Linked DNA regions of Homo sapiens: all the other regions are linked to region 3. The links are contacts of gene promoters, found by promoter capture Hi-C in human tissues and cell types (Jung and others, 2019). All regions are on one chromosome and are shown on one strand. Each heading gives the region's core, a stretch centred on a gene start or on the middle of the fragment in contact. The rest is flanking DNA. Distances are from core to core; before and after follow the strand shown.

Region 1 (4,299 bases), core at 1,368-3,867, 81 kb after region 3:
TGAGCCTGGGAAGTTGAGGCTGAGTGAGCCGTGATCACACTACTGTGCTCCAGCCTGGGCAACAGAGTGAGACCCTGTCAAAAAAAAAAAAAAAAAAAAAAAAAACGAAACAAAAAATCACCTGATGAAATAAATATTCAGAGTGGGAAGAGCTTGTGCTGAAAGCACTTAACGTGGGTAGCGCTCCCAGGGGGTGAGGCCAGAGGGGTCCTAGGCTTCCTAAAGAACGCATCATGATTCCCTGCCTTCCACCTCCCCTAGATCATTGCCTACCAGCCCTATGGGAAGTCTGTCGATTGGTGGTCCTTTGGAGTTCTGCTGTATGAGATGTTGGCAGGACAGGTAAGGGAAGGTGGGGAGAAGCTGGCTTGGCTAAAAGAGACAGAGAGGGGCACCTGGATCTCAGGAGGAGCCAGTTAGAAAGGAGCCCAGAAGGTTGTGCTCGAATAGCGCTGTCCATGGTTCTGAAGTGTTGTCTTAATGTAGACCAGGTGTTTTGTTTTGTTTTGTTTTGTTTGTTCTGTTACCATGGATTCTTTCTCCCTAGATGGTAAAGTAGCAGTCTGGTTAAGCCTATGGATCCCTTCTCAGAAGAATGTTTTTCAATGCACAAAATAGAATAATACATACGCAGAAAACCAAGGTTCAAATCCTCACTTTGCCACTTACTGGCTGTGTCAGCTTAGACAATTACATACATTCTAAATCAGCTTGATTGGATTCCTGGACTGCTGAGTGTACTACAACTAAAAAAATTGGTTACCACACTCTTGATCATCTTCTTAGCTGGCTATGGTAGTGGGCACCTATAGTCCCAGCTACTGGGGAGGCTGAGGCAGGAGGGTCACATGAGCCCAAGAACTCAAGGTTACACTGAACTATGAGTATGCCACTGTGTTCCAGCACAGGCGACAGAGCAAGACCCCATCTCAAAAGAACAAACAAACAAAAGAAATCAATCATTTTGAAAGATAGTCACCAAAACTTTTAAAATTTAATTGAATCTAACAACCAACTAAATTCAATGTATACAGTTGTCTAAATATTTAAAATTGGAAAATGGACATATGTGCAATTTCTTATTAATTCATTAAGTAGTAAGTTCTAATGGTAGTAAAGTAAAAAGGAGCTCTAACAGTAATTTTGATGTAGCAATGACTAATAATTTGGAATATCTGCAACTCTCATGTGATGAGAAAATACCTGTGATTACTATTGATAATGAAGCCACAAGCACTGCTGCTGCCTGCATTCATAACTGAAGGGAATGCTAAATTTTAGTTAGAAGTTAAAAAAAAATTTGGCCGGACATGGTGGCTCACGCCTGTAATCCAAGCACTTTGGGAGGCCGAAGTGGGCAGATCACTTGAGGTCAGGAGTTTGAGACCAGCCTGGCCAATATGATGAAACCCCATCTCTAAATCTTTGCCTTGGTATCATTTTTTGTAACCTCAGAAGACTGTGAACTACTCATCCAACCAGGAGAATGCTTTTAGGGTGTTTCCTGCAGTTTTTCCTCTCTTCTATTTAACTGACATGTTGCATAATTAACAGCCTGCTGATTTACATAGCAGATAAAGAGAGGCAGAATAGTACAGAGATGCACAGATCTGAGGCATCCGAGATAGGAAATGAGAGAACCTGAGAAGGAGAGAGATCAAGCTTTGGTGGTTTGGTCTGATCTCTCCTGAGGGTGTGGTCAGGTGTGCATGTGGGGCGTGTGATGGGTCAGGCATGTTCCCGGTGGGGTGAGGAGGGTGTGGAAGGTTTGGGGAAAGGCAGTTGGGCATGTCCCTGACTCTCTATCCCCTCCACTTTGATAGCCTCCCTTCGATGGGGAGGACGAGGAGGAGCTGTTTCAGGCCATCATGGAACAAACTGTCACCTACCCCAAGTCGCTTTCCCGGGAAGCCGTGGCCATCTGCAAGGGGGTGAGAGCCCCCTGACTCCCAGCTTCTCCAGGCTCACAACCACACACCCCATTGCTGTCTCTGTGCCTATTAGAAAAATGCTCCCATTCCTGAAGTCACTTTACTTCCATCTGTTGGAAAAGTTGATATGATGCATAGGTTTTGTTAGAACAATGATTTCCAGCCCTGTTGCCACGAGGCCTGGAGATGGCCTCTGTCTCATCCTTCTCTGTGACTCCCACTCCCCAGCTCCCTGCTTGCAGGAAGTGCTGAAAGTCCAGGGTGTCTGTCTGTCTAGAACTGGGTGGGTCAGGTAAACCCAACTTCTGCAGCTTTTCTTCCTGTGTGAACTTGGGTGAGTCACCAAAACTTTGTGAGCTTAACTCTCTTCAGGGGTTATGGAGTTGACACAGAAGAAAGCACCTGGCCCATAGCAGATTTTCAGCCCATGTCAGCACCTTCTGCGTCTAGCTGCTCTCTCTGCATCTCCCTGACAGTCTCTCTGGTTTCTGTCTCATGCCTCCCCTCCATCTGCATACGATGGGGCTCTCTGTGTTTCTTCCTTTTCTCTGTGTCTCCTTCTGCATCTCTGTCTACACTTTTGGGCCTTTGTCCAACCCCCCTACCCCCCATCTCTGTCCCCTCCTGTGTCCACTCTCATACACACACGCTACATCTCACCCTCCTCTCCTGCTGGCTTTCTGTCCTCCCTTTTCTCTGGGTCTCTGTCCCCATATTTGGTCTTTATTCCTCCCTCTGGGTGTGTGTTTCCTGGGTCTCTATCCTTCTCTCTTTCTGAATCTCTGTCCCCCTGGGTCTCCTCTGTCTCCTCCCTTCTCTGAGTTTCTGCCTTCTTACCTGGGGTCTCTGTACCACCCTCTGAATTTCTATTTCCCCTTTTCTCTGGGTCTGCAACCTCTCTTCCCCCATTCCCTCCCTCTTCCCCTTCATCTCCTCTACCCTTCCCTCCCTCCCCCTACCGACCTCCCTCTGTCCTTCACTCTCCCCTTCCCTCCCTCCCCCTACCCTTCCCTCTCCCCGTCCCTCTCTCCCCTTCCCTCTCTCCCCCTACCCCTTTTCCCTCTCCTCTTCTCCATCTCCCTCATGATTTGTTCTGTTTCTCTGTGTGTCCCTGGGTCTCTGGGTATGAATTTCATCTGCTATCATTTTCATGTATCCTCTCCTTCTTCCTGTCTCTCTCTCTCTCTCTCTCACTCACTCTCACCCTCTGTCTCTCTCTCTCTCTGTCCCTCTTCCTCTCTCTCTCCTCTCTGTCTCTCTCTGTCTCGCTCTCTGTCTGTCTCCCTCCTCCTCCTCCTCCCTCCTCCTCCTCCTCCTCCTCCTCCTCCTCCTCCTCCTCCTCCTTCTTCTTCTTCTTCTTCTTCTTCTTCTTCTTCTTTTCTTCTCTCTCTCTCTCCTTTCTTTTCCCTTCCTCCCTCCATTTGCCTGTTTCCCCTGGCTGTTCTTATCTCTCCGGATCTCATGCCTGTGTCTCTTGGTTCCTCCATCTGCCTGTCTCTGTCCCTCTTTCTCTGGGTCTACCTGTCCGGCACTCTGTCTGTTTGTCTGTCTGTCTCTCTCTGTGTTTCCCACAGTTCCTGACCAAGCACCCAGGGAAGCGCCTGGGCTCAGGGCCTGATGGGGAACCTACCATCCGTGCACATGGCTTTTTCCGCTGGATTGACTGGGAGCGGCTGGAACGATTGGAGATCCCGCCTCCTTTCAGACCCCGCCCGGTCAGTCACCCTCCAGGCAACAAAAACCTGGTCCCTGAAGGGGTGGGGTTCCCCTGGGCCTCAATATACCTGTATGTGGGGGTGGGGTTCCCTCTGCAGAGCCCCCCGCCCCCAACAAAAGGAGGTGCAGACACCATGAAGCATGAATAGAGATTCTGCAGGAGACAGGAGATGAGACTGGGGTACACAGAGGGACACCCGAGGAGCCCTCGGAGCTGCTTAACTTTCCCTCCCCCACGTCTCCCACAGTGTGGCCGCAGCGGCGAGAACTTTGACAAGTTCTTCACGCGGGCGGCGCCAGCGCTGACCCCTCCAGACCGCCTAGTCCTGGCCAGCATCGACCAGGCCGATTTCCAGGGCTTCACCTACGTGAACCCCGACTTCGTGCACCCGGATGCCCGCAGCCCCACCAGCCCAGTGCCTGTGCCCGTCATGTAATCTCACCCGCCGCCACTAGGTGTCCCCAACGTCCCCTCCGCCGTGCCGGCGGCAGCCCCACTTCACCCCCAACTTCACCACCCCCTGTCCCATTCTAGATCCTGCACCCCAGCATTCCAGCTCTGCCCCCGCGGGTTCTAGACGCCCCTCCCAAGCGTTCCTGGCCTTCTGAACTCCATACAGCCTCTACAGCCGTCCCGCGTTCAAGACTTGAG
Region 2 (4,616 bases), core at 510-3,009, 110 kb after region 3:
GCCCTGTTGCTGGTGATGTTAACTGCGATCACTTGGTTAAGGCAGTATCTGCCAGGTTCTTTCACCATAAAGGAAGCTTTTTATCTCTGTAATAATTAATAGATCTTCTGTGGGGAGATTCTGTCATCCAGCAATCGAGCATCCCCTCGTGACTCTTGCCTGAATCTAACATTACTACTAGGATTGCAGAATGGTGTTTTCTTCTAACTCTATTATTCCACCTACATGGATAAATTGGTGTGCTACTGAAAAGAACTTTCTCTTTTTTCTTATTTTAAATATGTATCAGTGTGGACTCATGTATTTTATTCTATTTTGTTTTTAATTTAGTTTTTGTTTTTTTGAGACGGAGTCTCACTCTGTCGCCCAGGCTGGATTGCAGTGGTGGGATCTCGGCTCACTGCAACCTCTGCCTCCTGGGTTCAAGCAATTCTTGTGCTTCAGCCTCCCAGGTAGCTGGGATTACAGGCACCCACCACCATGCCTGGCTAATTTTTGTATTTTTAGTAGAGATCAGGTTTCACCATGTTGGCCAGGCTGGTCTCAAACTCCTGACCTTAAGTGATCTGCCCACCTTGGCCTCCCAAAATGCAGAGATTATAGGCATGAGCCACCGTGCCCAGCCTAACTTAATTGAGTTTTTTGAGACAGTCTCCCTCTGTCACCCAGGCGGGAGTGCAGTGGTGCAGTCATAGCTCACTGCAGCCTTGAACTCCTAGGCTCGAGGGATCCTCCCTCCTGAGCCTCCCAAGTAGCTAAGACAACAGGAACTAATTATTTATTTTTAGTAGAGATGGGGTCTCACTATGTTGTCCAGGCTGGTCTTGAGCTGCTGACCTCAAGTGATCTGCCCACCTCGGCCTCCCGAGGTGCGGAGATTCCACTCATGAGCCACGGTGCCCAGCCTCCATTATTTTTCAACGGCAAGTCATGCTGCGATAAATCAGCCTGTGCATGTGTGGTTTCCCATCACGGGAGAGATATCCTCAGGATAAATTCCTGGAAGTGGGATTGCTGGGTTAAAGGACAGATCCGTGTGTGATTTTGTTAGATGCTACTAAATCCCCTTTCACGTGGCGGCACCGTTTTGCATTCCCACCAGCAATGTAGAAGAACGTCCATTCTCTCAGCCTCCCCAAAAGAGTGTGCTGTGAAGCTTTTAAACTTCTGACTACCCGGTTGATGAGAAGTGGTAGCTCATCATATTTTTCATTTGCATTTCTCAAATTTTGAGTGAGGGAAATCTACTTTTTTCAACAGGGAGATCATAAAAGTCTCCTCCCCCCTTCCCTTCCCTCCCCTCCCCTCCCCTCCCCTCCCCTCCTTCTCGGAGTTTTGCTCTTGTTGCCCAGGCTGGAGTGCAGTGGCACGATCTTGACTCATTGCAACCTCTGCTTCCTGGGTTCAAGTAATCCTCCTGCCTCAGCATCCCGAGTAGCTGGGGTTACGAGTGTGTGCCATCGCACCCAGCTAATTTTTGTATTTTTAGTAGAGACGAGGTTTCACCACGGTGGCCAGGCTGGTCTGAAACCCCTGGTCTCAAGTGATCCTTTCACCTGGGCCTCCCAAAGTGCTGGGATTACAGGCTTAAGCCACTGCGCCTGGCCCATAGAAGGTCTTTCTAAAGAGGCAACAAGTGAGGAGAGATCTAAGTGACAGAAATAGACATGGGGAAATCTGGGGGAAGAGCATTCCAGGTAGAAGGAATGGCAAGACCAAAGGCCCTGAGGCAGAAGTGAGCTTGAGGAGTTCAAGGAAGAGCAAGAAAGTTAGGTGTTCTAGGCCGAGTGTGGTGGCTCACGCTTGTAATCCCAGCACTTTGGGAGGCCAAGGTGGAAGAACTGCTTGAGCTCAGGAGTTCGAGACCAGCCTGGGCAACATGGGGAGACCCTGTCTCTACAAAAAAATGCAAAAGTTAGCCCCGCATGGTGGTGCATGCCTGTTGTCCCAGCTACTCATGAGTCTGAGGTGTGAGGATTGCTTGAGCCAGGGAGGTGGAGGCTGCAGTGAGCTATGATTGCACCAATGCACTCCTGCCTGGACAACAGAGCAAGACCCTGTCCCAAAAAGAAAAAAAGTAAAGAAAGTTAGGTGGTCTAAGAAAAAGAAACAAGGAGAAACTGATCAGAGATGGTGTGGGCAGGTACCGGACCATTTATATACTGCAGTCTAAGAGGTCAGCGAAGTTTTCTGTAAAGAGCCAAATAATAAATACCTTCAGCTTTATTGGCCACCCAGTCTCTCTTGTAACTGCTCAGCCTTGTGGTTGTAGCAAAAAACCAGTCACAGGCAATATGTAAACAAATGGGTGTGGCTGTGTTCCACTATCATTTGTAGAAACCAAAATTTAAAATTAATGTACTTTAAAAAGTTGAGATATAAAGCCAGGCACAGTGGCTCACGCCTGTAATCCCAGCACTCTGGGAGATGAGGTGTGCAGATCACTTGAGATCAGGAGTTCGAGACCAGCCTGGGCAACATGGCAAAACCCTGTCTCTGCAAAAAATACAAAAAATTAGCCGGGCGTGGTGGTGTGCACCTGTAGTCCCAGCTACTAGGGAGGCTGAGGTGGGAGGATCACTTGAGCCTGGGAAGTGAAGGCTGCAGTGAGCCATGATTGTCCCAGTGCTCTCCAGCCTGGGTGACAGAGCAAGACCCTGTCTTCAAAACAAAACAAAACAAAACAAAAAAGGCCGGGTGTGGTGGCTCACACCTGTAATCCCAGCACTTTGGGAGGCCAAGGTGGGCAGATCACTTAAGGTCAGGAGTTTGAGACCAGCCTGGTCAACATTGTGAAGCCCTGTCTCTACTAAAAATACAAAAATTAGCCAGGCATGGTGGCGGGTGCCTGTTAATTCCAGCTACGCAGGAGGCTGAGGCAGGAGAATCGCTTGAGTCCAGGAGGCAGAGGTTGCGGTGAGCCGAGATTGCACCACTACACTCCAGCCTAGGTGACAGAGCAAGAATCTGTCTCAAAAAATTCCAAAAAACAAAAAACAAAATTGAGATGTAATTCACATACTATAAATTTCATATAATTCAGTGATGTTTCAGTACATCCACAAGGTTGTGCAACCATCTCCATTAGCTAATTTCACAACATTTTCATTATTCTCAAAAGAAACCTCACACACCTTAGCAGCCAGACACAATTTCCCCCTCCATCCTATTCCCTGGCAACCACTAATCTACTTTCTGTCTCTGTGGATTTGCCTATTCTGGACATTGCATATAAATGGAATCACACAATATGTGATATTTTGCATCTGGCTTCTTTTAGCTTGCTTTCTAGGTTCATCCCTATGGTAGCATGAATCAGTATATCGTTCCCTTTTTTGGCTGAATAGTATTCCTGTATATGGATATACCACATTTTGTTTATCCATTCATCAGCTGATGGGCATTTGGGCTGTTTCCGCTTTTTGGCTATTACGCATAACGCTGTTACAAACATCCGTGTATGCGTTTTTGTATGAACATATGTTTCCACTTCTCTTGGGGACATACCTAGGAGTGGAATTGCTGGGTCATATGATAATTCTATCTTTAACTTTTTGAGGCGCTGCCAAATGAAATTCATATACTTTTTATGTGCCACAAAATACCAGTCTTGTTTTGATTTTTAACATCATTTACTTATGTGAAAGCCATTCTTAGCTGGTGGGCCATACACAATGAGGGGGTGAGCTGGGTTTCGTCCATGGACCATGGTTTGCCGACCACCGGTGTAGACAGTGGAAGGAATTTGGGCTTATTCTGTGTGTGGCACACAGAATGTAGGATTCTAGGGGAAGAGGTTGATAGGGATTAGTTAGATACATTTAAGGCAGGGAACTTTATAGCCTCCTTAAGCCACTCTTGGCATGGTTACTGTTTAGAGGAAATTTCATCTGGAGAAAATGATAATCGCCTCTTAGAAATTCTCAGATTGGACCTCTCCTCTGCACACTGTCCGTATGCTCTATTTCCTCAATTGTAAATGGTGTTAAAAATGTACCTCCTTCAAAGAGGTGTTGTGAAGTTTGAATGAATGTATATATATACACAACACCAAGAACAGTGCCTGGCACAGACCAAGACCTATATAAGTCGTTGCTATTATTATTGCTATTGTTGCAATTATTATCCACACAGCCTCAGCTCAGGCCTCATCCTCTTCGCCCTGGAATATGTCTCCCTCCAGTCTGTTCCCAGCATCAACCAGCCCCCAAAGTTTCTTCTAACACTGGGATCTGGCCCTGTCCTTCCTCTGCTACAAACTTTGTGTAGCTCCCTAGCACCCTTGGCGTCAACACCCAGCTCCTGGGCCCGGCATTCGAGGCTCACCATGGCTATACCTTCCCCTTTCTCTAACCTCATTTCTTGTGGCTACAGCTTATGTTACAGCTACATGGGTGGACCAGCTCTATTTTCCCTCCTTCCGAAACCTTTGCCCATGCTGTGCACTCTGCCAGTGTGCCCTTATTCTTCTCTGGGCCTCATCCTTTAAGGCCGGGCGCGGTGGCTCAAACCTGTAATCTTAGCATTTGGGGAGGCCGAGGTGGGTGGATCACCTGAGGTCAGGAGTTTGAGACCAGCCTGGCCAACATGGTGAAACCCCGTCTCTACTAAAAATA
Region 3 (4,335 bases), core at 1,183-3,682:
CAAAGACCAAAGGGATGAAATTAGAATTCTGTACACAGTCATAAAAAAGAACAAAATCATGTTCTTTGCAGTAACATGGACGCAGCTGGAGGCCATTATCCAAAGCAAACTAATGCAGGAATAGAAAACCAAAGACTGCATGTTCTCACTTATAAGTGGAAGCTAAACATTGGGTTCTCATGGACAGAAAGATGGGAAGAAGAGACACTGGGGACTCGTGGCGGGGAGAAATCTCACCATTGGGTACTATTACTATGTTCAAGTACCTGCATGATAGGATCAATCTTACTCTGAATCTCAGCATCACTCAATATACCCATGTAACAAACCTGCACATGTACCCCTTGAATCTAAAAGTTGAAATTTTTATATAGATATAGATGTGTGTGTACGTAAATTAGAATTCCAGATCTCCCAGGCTCAGGGATTAGTATGAAAGAAAAGGGAATTGGTGGCCAGGCAGTGGTCATTCATGCCTGTAATCCCAGCACTTTGGGAGGCTAAGGTGGAAGCTCGCTTGAGCCCAGGAGTTCAAGACCAGCCCGGGCAACATAAGGACACCTCATCTTGGCCGGGCACAGTGGCTTATGCCCGTAATCCCAGCACTTTGGGAGGCTGAGGTGGGTGGATCACGAGGTCAGAAGTTCAAGACCAGCCTGGCCAAGATAGTGAAACCCCGTCTCTACAAAAAATACAAATACAAAAAATTAGCCAGGCATGGTGGCAGGTACCTGTAATCTCAGCTACTCGGGATGCTGAGGCAGAAAATTGCTTGAACCTGGGAGACGGAGGTTGCAGTGAGCGGAGATTGCGCCACTGCACTCCAGCCTGGGCAACAGAGCGAGACTCAGTCTTAAAAAAAAAAAAAAAAAAGGATACCTCATCTCTTTCTTAATTTATTTTTGAGATGGGGTTTCACTCTGTTACCCAGCCTGGAGTACAGTGGTGCAATCTCAACTCACTGCAATCTCCACCTCTCAGGTTCAAGCGATTCTCCTGCCTCAGCCTCCCATGTAGCTGGGACTATAAGCGTGTGCCACCACGCCTGGCTAATTTTTGTATTTTTAGTAGAGACAGGGTTTTGCTATGTTGGCCAGACTGATCTCGAATTCCTGACCTCAGGTGACCCACCCGCCTTGGCCTCCCAAAGTGCTGGGATTATAGGTGTGAGCCACTGCACCTGGCTACCTCATCTCTTAAAATATATATACACACACACATATACACACACATATATATACACATATATACACATATATATACGTGTGTGTATATATATATAAATTCCAGATCTCCCAGGCTCAGGGATTTTATATATATGTATTTTAAATATTTATTTTAATAATATATGTATTAAATATTTAATATATAATATTTATTATTTATATATATTTATATAATATACCATATTTATATAATATAGTATATTTATATAATAAATATATACTATATTTATATATAATATATACCATATTTAATATATATTTAATAATATAATTATATACATATTTTAAATATATATTTAAAATATATGTTTTAAATATATATATTTAAAATATATGTTTTAAATATATATTTTAAATATATATTTAAAATATATATTTTAAAATATATTTATTTAAAATATATATTTAAAACATATATTTTAAATATATATATTTTAAAAAAATATATTTTAAATATTTGAGGCAAGGTCTCGTTCTGTCACCTAGGCTGGGGTGCAGTGGCAGGATCATAGCTCACCGCAGCCTCGACCTTCTGGTCTCAAGTGATCCTCCCACCTCAGCCTCCTGAGAAGCTGGGATCACAGACGTATACCACCACACCTGGCTAATTTTTTTTATTTTTGGTAGAGACAGAGCCTCACTATGTTGTCCAGACTGGTCTTGAACTCCTCACCTCAAGTGATCTGCCCTCTTCAGCCTCCCAAAGTGCTGAGATTACAGGTATGAGTCACTGGACCCGGCTGGCATTCTAGCCTTGCCTGTCCCGCCACCTCCTTACCCCTCACCAGGTCCTCTCTCTGTCCTCTCTCCCACAGGTCCTTCCTGTTTATCCGCTCAAAGGTGCTGAGAGCCAACCTCCAGGCCTCCTCTGGCCCGAAGTGGGTGATGAGCAGCTGGGCCATTTCCAGGGGACCGGCCTTCTCCATGCTTCCCCAGGGGATCTTGCCTTCTCCCAGCTCTGTCGCGGTCCCCAGGTATAACTTGAACTTCTTCAGTTCCACAGCCTCGAGTTCTTCCAAGTAGGTGGACAGGCGACAGAGGCCGTCCCTGCCTGCGGTTCGTAGCATGGGGGTGCCGTGAGCCCCAAAGGAGAGGACCTGGAGGCTGAGATGCTCCTATGCACGGGACACAGGGCGACCCCAGCACACCTTCCATTGCATCATTCACAGGCAGCGGGCGGAGAGGCTGAGCCAGTGGTTGGAGGAGAGAGCAAGGGAGGAAAGACCTTTTGCTGAAATAATGCTTTCTCACTCTTCAGTTCCCTCCTGCCCTGCCCCACTCACCAATGGCTGTTCTGGGTGGAGAAGAGGAAGTTCGGGGGGAGATTAAGAAATCCGAGGAGCCACTTGGCTGATGAAAAAGATTTTCACTTCTGCTGTCTCTTCCTGGATCTCTTGACAAAACAGTCACTCTCTTTCCGCTTTCCTCTTGTTTTCCTCATTTCACTAGTGTGTGTGGTAGAGTGTATTATCAAAACTGCGACTGCGCCTCTTCCAGGGAGAATTTTTTTTTTTTTGAGACAGAGTCTTACTCTGTGGCCCTGGCTCTGCGATCTTGGCTCACCGCAACCTCTGCCTCCCAGGTTCAAGCGATTCTCCCACCTCAGCTTCCCTTGAGTAGCTGGGATTACAGGCGCCGGACACCACACCCAGCTAATTTTTGTGGTTTTAGAAGAGACAGGGTTTCACCATGTTGGTCAGGCTGGTCTCGAACTCCTGACCTCAGGTGATCCACCCGCCTCAGCCTTCCAAAGTGCTAGGATTACAGGTGTGAGCCACCGTCCCTGGCTTTTTTTTTTTTTTTTTTCTTTGAGTCAGAGTCTCACTCTGCCACCCAGGCTAGAGTTCACTGGCGTGATCTCAGCTCACTGCAACCTCCGCCTCCCAGGTTCCAGCGATTCTCCCACCTCAGCCTCTCAAGTAGCTGGGACCACAGACATGCGCCACCATGCCCAGCTAAGTTTTTGTAGTTTTGGTAGAGACAAGGTCTTCTTATGTTGCCCAGGCTGGCCTTGAACTCCTGAGCTCAAACGATCCGCCCACCTCAGCCTTCCAAAGTGCTGGGATTACAGGCATGAGCCACTGAGCCCAGCCTCAGGGAGAATTATTAAGGACCTCACGTAGGTCTGCTATTTTTTTTCTGTTCTCTCAGTCACAAGAGTGGCATGAGAGGGACTTTGCGGTAGGCAGGATGATGGTCCCCAAAGATATTCATGTCCTAATGGCCAGAACCTGTGACATTTCACCCTACATAGCAAAAGAGACTTAGCATATGTGACCAAATGAAGGCACTTCAGATGGGGACATTATCCTGGTTATCTGGGCAGGACCCATGGAATCACAAGAGTCTTTTTTTTGAGACAGAGTCTTGCTCTGTTGCCCAGGCTGGAGTGCAGTGGCACGAACTCGGATCACTGCAAGCTCCGCCTCCCAGGTTCACACCATTCTCCTGCCTCAGCCTTCCGTATAGCTGGGACTACAGGTGCCCGCCAACACGCCTGGCTAATTCTCTTTTTTTTGTATTTTTAGTAGAGATGGGGTTTCACCATGTTAGCCAGGATGGTCTTGATCTCCTGACTTCGTGATCCACCTGCCTCAGCCTCCCAAAGTGCTGGGATTACAGGCGTGAGCCACCGCACCCAGCCACAAGAGTCTTTATAAGAAGAAGACAGGAGGGTTAGTGTAAGAGGAAGATGTGACTGGGTGCAATGGCTCATGCCTGTAATCCTAGCACTTGGGGAGGCCAAGGCAGGTAGATCACCTGAGGCCAGGAGTTTCACACCAGACTGGTCAACACAGTGAGGCCCCATCTCTACAAAATATGTGTTAGCAGAATTTATGAATTCTGATGGAAGAGCAAGTTTATAATTCCCTCTGTCTCCTGCATCATGCCAACTTTGTTTCATGCTCCTAATCAATTAAGACCCCTCAGACACACACACACACACACACACACACACACACACACACACACACACACAAAAGCCTTCATAGCCAGGCGCAGTGGCTCACACCTGTAATCCCAGCACTTTGGGAGACTGAGGCGGGCAGATCACCTGAGGTCAGGAGTTTGAGACCAGCCTGGCCAACATGGTGAAACCCCGTCTCTA

The links. The method cuts DNA at HindIII sites, captures the fragments that hold promoters and counts their contacts. A contact is called where the count stands out against the background at its distance.
Region 1: a fragment that was not itself captured here is called in contact with the fragment with the promoter of NLRP12 in region 3 in 2 of the 25 tissues and cell types used here (H1 embryonic stem cells and thymus).
Region 2: a contact is called between a fragment that was not itself captured here and the fragment with the promoter of NLRP12 in region 3, in 2 of the 25 tissues and cell types used here (heart left ventricle and spleen).

Annotation. Positions count from the first base shown.
Region 1 is chr19:53,902,812-53,907,110 of GRCh38, forward strand. It overlaps PRKCG (protein kinase C gamma), which reads left to right. Exons shown (of 18, transcript NM_002739.5): 15 at 262-342; 16 at 1,824-1,931; 17 at 3,506-3,646; 18 at 3,896-4,299. The coding sequence ends at 4,084. Among named protein-coding and RNA genes, the nearest start is that of CACNG7, 4.3 kb to the right of the region's middle. The HindIII fragment of the contact is 5,202 bases long and covers 17-4,299 here.
Region 2 is chr19:53,936,284-53,940,899 of GRCh38, forward strand. The region is part of intron 4 of CACNG7 (calcium voltage-gated channel auxiliary subunit gamma 7); the gene reads left to right. Among named protein-coding and RNA genes, the nearest start is that of CACNG8, 24 kb to the right of the region's middle. The HindIII fragment of the contact is 6,086 bases long and covers 1-4,616 here.
Region 3 is chr19:53,821,882-53,826,216 of GRCh38, forward strand. It overlaps NLRP12 (NLR family pyrin domain containing 12), which reads right to left and starts at 2,433. Exons shown (of 10, transcript NM_144687.4): 1 at 2,005-2,433. The coding sequence starts at 2,293. The HindIII fragment of the contact is 28,124 bases long and covers 1-4,335 here.